Regions from separate parts of the Homo sapiens genome. Here region 1 is linked to region 2. The links are contacts of gene promoters, found by promoter capture Hi-C in human tissues and cell types (Jung and others, 2019). All regions are on one chromosome and are shown on one strand. Each heading gives the region's core, a stretch centred on a gene start or on the middle of the fragment in contact. The rest is flanking DNA. Distances are from core to core; before and after follow the strand shown. Region 1 has its middle 6.1 kb from the start of MYD88. Region 2 holds the start of SLC22A14 (solute carrier family 22 member 14).

Evidence for each region. Contacts are between HindIII fragments. The study calls those that stand out against the background at their distance.
Region 1: a contact is called between a fragment that was not itself captured here and the fragment with the promoter of SLC22A14 in region 2, in 2 of the 25 tissues and cell types used here (liver and spleen).

The regions. Positions count from the first base shown.
Region 1 is chr3:38,143,208-38,146,293 of GRCh38, forward strand. No RefSeq gene overlaps it. Among named protein-coding and RNA genes, the nearest start is that of MYD88, 6.1 kb to the left of the region's middle. RefSeq lists an enhancer at 664-723. The HindIII fragment of the contact is 3,478 bases long and covers 1-3,086 here.
Region 2 is chr3:38,280,955-38,283,793 of GRCh38, forward strand. SLC22A14 (solute carrier family 22 member 14) reads left to right here and starts at 1,340. Exons shown (of 11, transcript NM_001320033.2): 1 at 1,340-1,385. The HindIII fragment of the contact is 14,250 bases long and covers 131-2,839 here.

The DNA.
Region 1 (3,086 bases), core at 382-2,881, 140 kb before region 2:
CAGGAGACTGCCCTTCTCTGGCCATGTCCAATCTTTTCTTGGTTGTGCCATGCTCCTGGGTCCTGGTCCAGTCTTGGAGTAGGGGCTGATCTATGCTCCAAAGAGAGTCTGGAGGACCCCCCAACTCCAGCCCCTGAGCACTGCATTGTTACTCCTAATAATCTTCTTTGGGCACATCTATGTTAATCCTAAAGGTACTGATCTATTTTTAAAGAAAATATTGCTTTTTCACTGTTGAAGAAAATTTGGAAAAGATAAAGAAAAAAACTCACACATCATAATTCCAGAGAGAACTCTAGTGACATTTTAGAGTGCTCAGACATTGTCAGTGACAGTAGCTTTTTTCTCAATGGTCTATCTGCTGCCACGTCCTGGCTCCTGAGCCACCTGGATGCTGTAGCCTCCCCAGCCTTGCCCCTGTGCCCTCAGGGACTCCTGGGAAGGCCCTGTGTACTCAGAGAACCCCTGAGGCCGAGTCTTTCTCTCCAGCATCCCCTGGGGAGCAGAGCCACAGTGTGGCCCTGGCGGTGCCCCCAGGATCTGCCATGTGCTGCCCATGGCTGGGAAGACAGTCCTGGGCTGGTCCCCTCTTGGGAAAAGCCTCTCTTCTCTTAGGCCAGGCTGTTGACCCAAATGTGCTCTCCCCACCCCTATCTGACCCTCACACTCCTCACACCTGCCTGTCTCCAGTGCCTTCCTTCCCATTAGCTGTGTTCCCAAATGTAGATAAAGCTTCCTCTTCTCATTTTCAGTTTTAGTCCTCTACGAGCATTTAAAAGAGAAACTTTCCTTTTTCAATAAGGAAAATTTACGCTGAAATTATCAAAGGCAAAGCAGGAAACTTTGGAGGGCAGCAGCATAGTTGAAATTCAAAACTACGATTCTGTGTGACGATGGAGATGGATTCCGCCACAAGTCAATGACCAGGGAGAGAATTGGGGAGAGGGATTTCCTTTAGATTAGATAAGACTTGGGTCATAACGATCAAATATACTGATATAGTATAACTTTGTTGGATTCTGGCTCAAACAGAGCAATTGTAAAAAGACAATATTGAGTCATATATCTGATAAGGGGTTAATATCTGGAATGTATAAAAAAAAAAACTCTTAGAAATCAACAACAAAAGAAACAAGCAACCTAACTCAAAAATGGGCAAAAGACTTGGGCAGAAGTTTCTCCAAAGAAGATATACAAATGAGGGACAGGTGTGGTGGCTCACATTTGTAATCTCAGCACTTTGGGAGGCTGAGGCGGGTGGATTGCTTGAGCCCAGGAGTTGGAGACCAGCCTGGACTACATGGCAAAACCCTGTCTCTAAAAAAAAATACAAAAATTAGCCAGGCGTAGTGGCATGCACCTGTAGTCCCAGCCACTCGGGAGGCTGAGGTGGGAAGATCGCCTAGGAGACGAAGGTTGCCGCAAGCCAAGATTGCACCACTGCACTCTAGCTTGGGCAACAGAGCGAGACCCCATCTAAGAAAAAAAAGAAACAAACAAAAAGAAAAAAAATACAAATGGCCAATAAGCACATAAAAATATGCTCAATATCACTAATTAGGGAAAGCAAATCAGAACCACCATGAGACAGATACCACTTCATACCCATTAGGATGGCTACTATCAAAAAAAAAAAAAAAAAAAAAAAAAAATATATATATATATATATATATATATATATAACAAACATTGAAGATGTGGACAAATCGGAACCTTTGATCACTTTTGATGGGAATATAAAATGGCATAGCTGCTATAGTAAACAGTATGGCAATTCCTCAAAAAATTACAAACAGAATTACCATATGACCCAGCAATTCCACTTGGGAGTATATACCCCAAAGAATTGAAAGCAGGGTCTTGAAGACATGTTTGTATATCCATGTTTGTAGCAGCATTATTCACAATAGACAAAAGGTATAACCAAGCCAACATCTATCAACAGATGAATGGGTAAATGAAATGTGGTATATATGTACAAAAGATTATTACTTAGCTTTAAAAATGAAAGACATTCTGACATATGCTGCAACATCAAATAACTTTGATGATATTATGCTAAGTGAAATAAGACAGGCTGGGCACAGCGGCTCATGCCTGTAATCCCAGCACTTTGGGAGGCTGAGGCGGGTGGATCATTTGAGGTCAGGAGTTCAAGACCAGCCTGGCACACATGGTGAAACCCTGTCTCTACAAAAAATACAAAAATTAGCCAGGCATGGTGGTGCATTCCTGTAATCCCAGCTACTTGGGTAGCTGAGGCAGGAGAATCGCTTGAACCCGGAAGGTTGAGGTTTCAGTGAGCTGAGATCATGCCATTGCGCTAACAGAGCAAGACTCTGTCTCAAAAAAAAAAAAAAATTCACACAGCAGAACACTGGGCTGGTAAGGGTGGAAGATGAGGGGCCGCACCATCAATTTAGGGGAACATTGTCCCCACTGGCTGCTATTTGCCAGATGATACAGAATAAATGTTTTAAATGCCCTTGGGGATGTCTGGTTCTGAGACAATATAGAGTAAAAACACTTCTCCTTATTCCCTCTGCTAAATACAGGCAAAACACCCTGGACATTATATAAAACACAAATATAAGGAGACTCTGAAAGGTGGAGAGAAGAAGATAGAATGGTTAGGGACCTCAGGACCTATGGAATGACATGGCACTAGCCTAGGGTTTTCTTTTTGCCTATGCCTAATGGATCTCAGACTGAGTATGGAGAAGGCAGAAACCTATAAACTAATGAGTACAGGTAAAGGAAAAAAAAGAAAAAAAAAAAAGGAAAACCTGCTTTTACTAGCCAAACGACCAGAAAGGGACAGTCTTGCAAGAAAGAAAGTTTGTAGACAATAACCACTCCAGCTAAACCATAGAAAAAATTGTAGTATTACCTACACCCTGCCAGCAAAGGCAAAATGGGGAATCTAAATTTCCACTCCCACCTTCTTGGGTGTCAGAGTGGGTCTAGTAGAGAGTCAAGACTTTCACCACTGCCCAGCAGTAATGTCCTCTATCATGTCAGTGGAGGCCAGATGGGGAGTAGTAACAAGGCATCCTTCTCCCTCCCAGCCAAGGTGGTATCAGGGG
Region 2 (2,839 bases), core at 90-2,589:
AACAAACCAAAACAAAGGGGTGCTCCCACCCTGCTCTTCAGTCTCACTGATGGCTTCTGGGTGCTCACTGTGCTGTCTGCTTGGTCCCTTTGACCCCCAGAGTGCTGCTGCTCAAGAGTGGGGAACTCTAGGGGGGATGAGGGGCCTAGGACCAACCACTGAGGTGACCTGCAGACACCCCGAGGGAGGTCTGGTGAAAGAGGAAGGATCTGATGCCCCAGATACCAATAAGATTGCAGTGCCCTGCCCCCAAACAAGTGAAGATTGAGCCATAGGAAACTGCAAAAGAGCTGTAAGTAGGTTTCCCTGTGATCAATACTTCATTTTTTTTCAAATATATGAAATTCTTTTAATTTTTTTTTGTGTCTTAAGTGTCTGTGTTAGTCCATTTTCTGTTGCTTATAACAGACTGCTTGAAACTGAGTTATTTATAAAGAAAAGAAATTTATTTCTTACAGTTCTGGAGGCTGGGAAGTCCAAGGTTTAGGGAATACATCTGGTAAGGGCCTTCTTGCTGTTGGGAACTCTGCAGTCTCCCAAGGGGGCACAGGTGAGGGAACCGAGCAAGCTAGCTTGTCTTTCTTCCTCTTGTTATAAAGTCACCAGTCCCATTCTCATAACTCATTAACCCATTAATCTACTAATCCATGATTGGTGATTCATGGATTAACAGATTACACTCATGACCCAATTACATCTTAAAGGCCCCATCACGCTACCACACTGGAGATGAAGTTTCAACATGAGTTTTGGAGAGGACAAATATTAAGCCATAGCAATGCTCTAATTTTGTTGAGGTCCTAAGTACATGCTGTACTGGTACAAGGATGGTCTGCCTTGTACTAGGCCCTGTGCTGGTTTTCCTGTCCTGCCACTTTGGCCTCCCTTCCCCCAAGCATGAAGCTTGAAGCCCTGTTCCTGCAATCTGGCAGAGGAGGCTTCTAGCTTATGGGGGAGATGGGTCAGACCCCGGCAGCTCTGACCAAGGCTGGTTGGCAGGGGAGTGTCACGGAGAGACAGAGCAGAAGTGAGTGGGGTAGGGCCAAGCCATTTCCAGCTGTGGGCTCAGGAAGGCTTGAAGGATAGTTGATAAATGAGTGATATCTGGAAGGACAGGAGAATTTCCGAGAGTGGAGGTGGAGCCCTCGTGTGGAGGAAACAGCCTGCACAAAGACAGGGGCAGGGGGGTTCGTGTGGCAGTTTTCCTGACCTGCCTTGCCCCTGGAGGCTACAGCCAGTTGTGTCCCTGGAGTAGAATGCTGACCCTCACCATTCCCAGCTCACCCCAAGGACCTCCCCACCCCATTGTGACACTACTTCCTGGACACCAGTGGAGCTCAAAGGTTCTGCTTCCAAGGGTCTGGCTGGGCCTGGATTGTGGTCAGGTGGGCCCTGGCTTTGGCTTGCGGTCCTGCCTACAGGGAGGCAGGGCCGGGAGGGTGTGGAGAGTAGAAATTATGATGACCCCTGGCAATTTTGCGGCCGCGTTCTCAGCACAGGTGTGGACAGGAGCCTGCCTGGGCCTGTTTGGCTGTGGGGAATCTGTGGAAGGAGCGGGCTGCCCTCCCAGAAAGCGTGAGTTCTCAGGTGTGGCGTCTGGCCATCTCCTGCGGCAGGTGGAGTGCTCCTCCTGGCTATGCTTCTCCCAGGCCTCAGTTACCTCTTTGGCACATTGAGAGCCAATTGCCTGGGGCCTGTCCACCTGGCAGAGGACCTTTGGGATGAGTAGAGGGAGTGAGTGCTCCAGGGTATTGGGGTATCAGGTGGTGCTGGGGGATGCTGAAGCGGTCCCTGCAGAGGGAGGCTGGTACAGATGGCTCTGGTCCAGAAGCCACATCTCTGAGAGGACAGCGGAGGCTCTCCCTCCCTGGAAAGTCTCCTTTATCCACCTCCACCCTCTCCAGCCTTACACACATACATCCTGTATTGGTTTCCTATTGCTGCTATAACAAATGCCCACACTTAGTGGCTTGAAACAGCAGAGACTTATTACCTTATGGTTTTGGAGGTCAGAAGAACAAATGGGCCTCAGCAGGCTAAGATCAAGGTCTCAGAAGGATTGCCTTCCTTTCTGGAGGCTCTAGGGCAGAGCTCATTTCCTTCCTTGCCTTTTCCAGCTTCTAGAGCCTCCTGCATTCCTTGGCTCTGGGACCCCTTGCATCTTCAAAGCCACCGACGGCTGCCCAAATCTTTATCACGCTGCATTTCTTTGGGTCTTATGCATTTAAGGATCCTGGGATTAATGGGACCTACCTGACAATCCAGGATAATCTATTTTAAAGTCAGCTAAGTAGTAACCTTAACTTCATCTGTAACTTTAACCCCCCTTGCCATGTAAGGAAACATATTTACGAGTTCTGAGGATTAGGCATAGATCTCTCCGGGGGGCGCTTATGCAGCCTCCCCCACCTCCCAGCACACACACATCTAAGCATGCTCTCCCTCTGTGTTCCCTGCCTCTTATGCACCTCCAAATTCTGCTGAGATAAGGGATCCCGAACTCAGGGCCAGGCAGGAGGCAAAGACAAGTGAAATGGGGAAATGGTGCTGGGCTCTGCTGGGCCTCCTGCATGCACACATCAGAAGTAGCAGGAGCCGGGTGCAGTGGCTCACGCCTGTAATCCCAGCACTTTGGGAGGCCGAGGCGGGAAGATCACTTGAGGTCAGGAGTTCGAGACCAGCCTGGCCAACATGGTGAAACCCCATCTCTACTAAAAATACAAAAATTAGCCAGGCGTGGTGGCTTGCACCTGTAGTACCAGCTACTCGGGAGGCTGAGCCAGTAGAATCACTTGAACCCAGGAAGCAGAGGGTGCAGTAAGCCGAGATCACACCACTA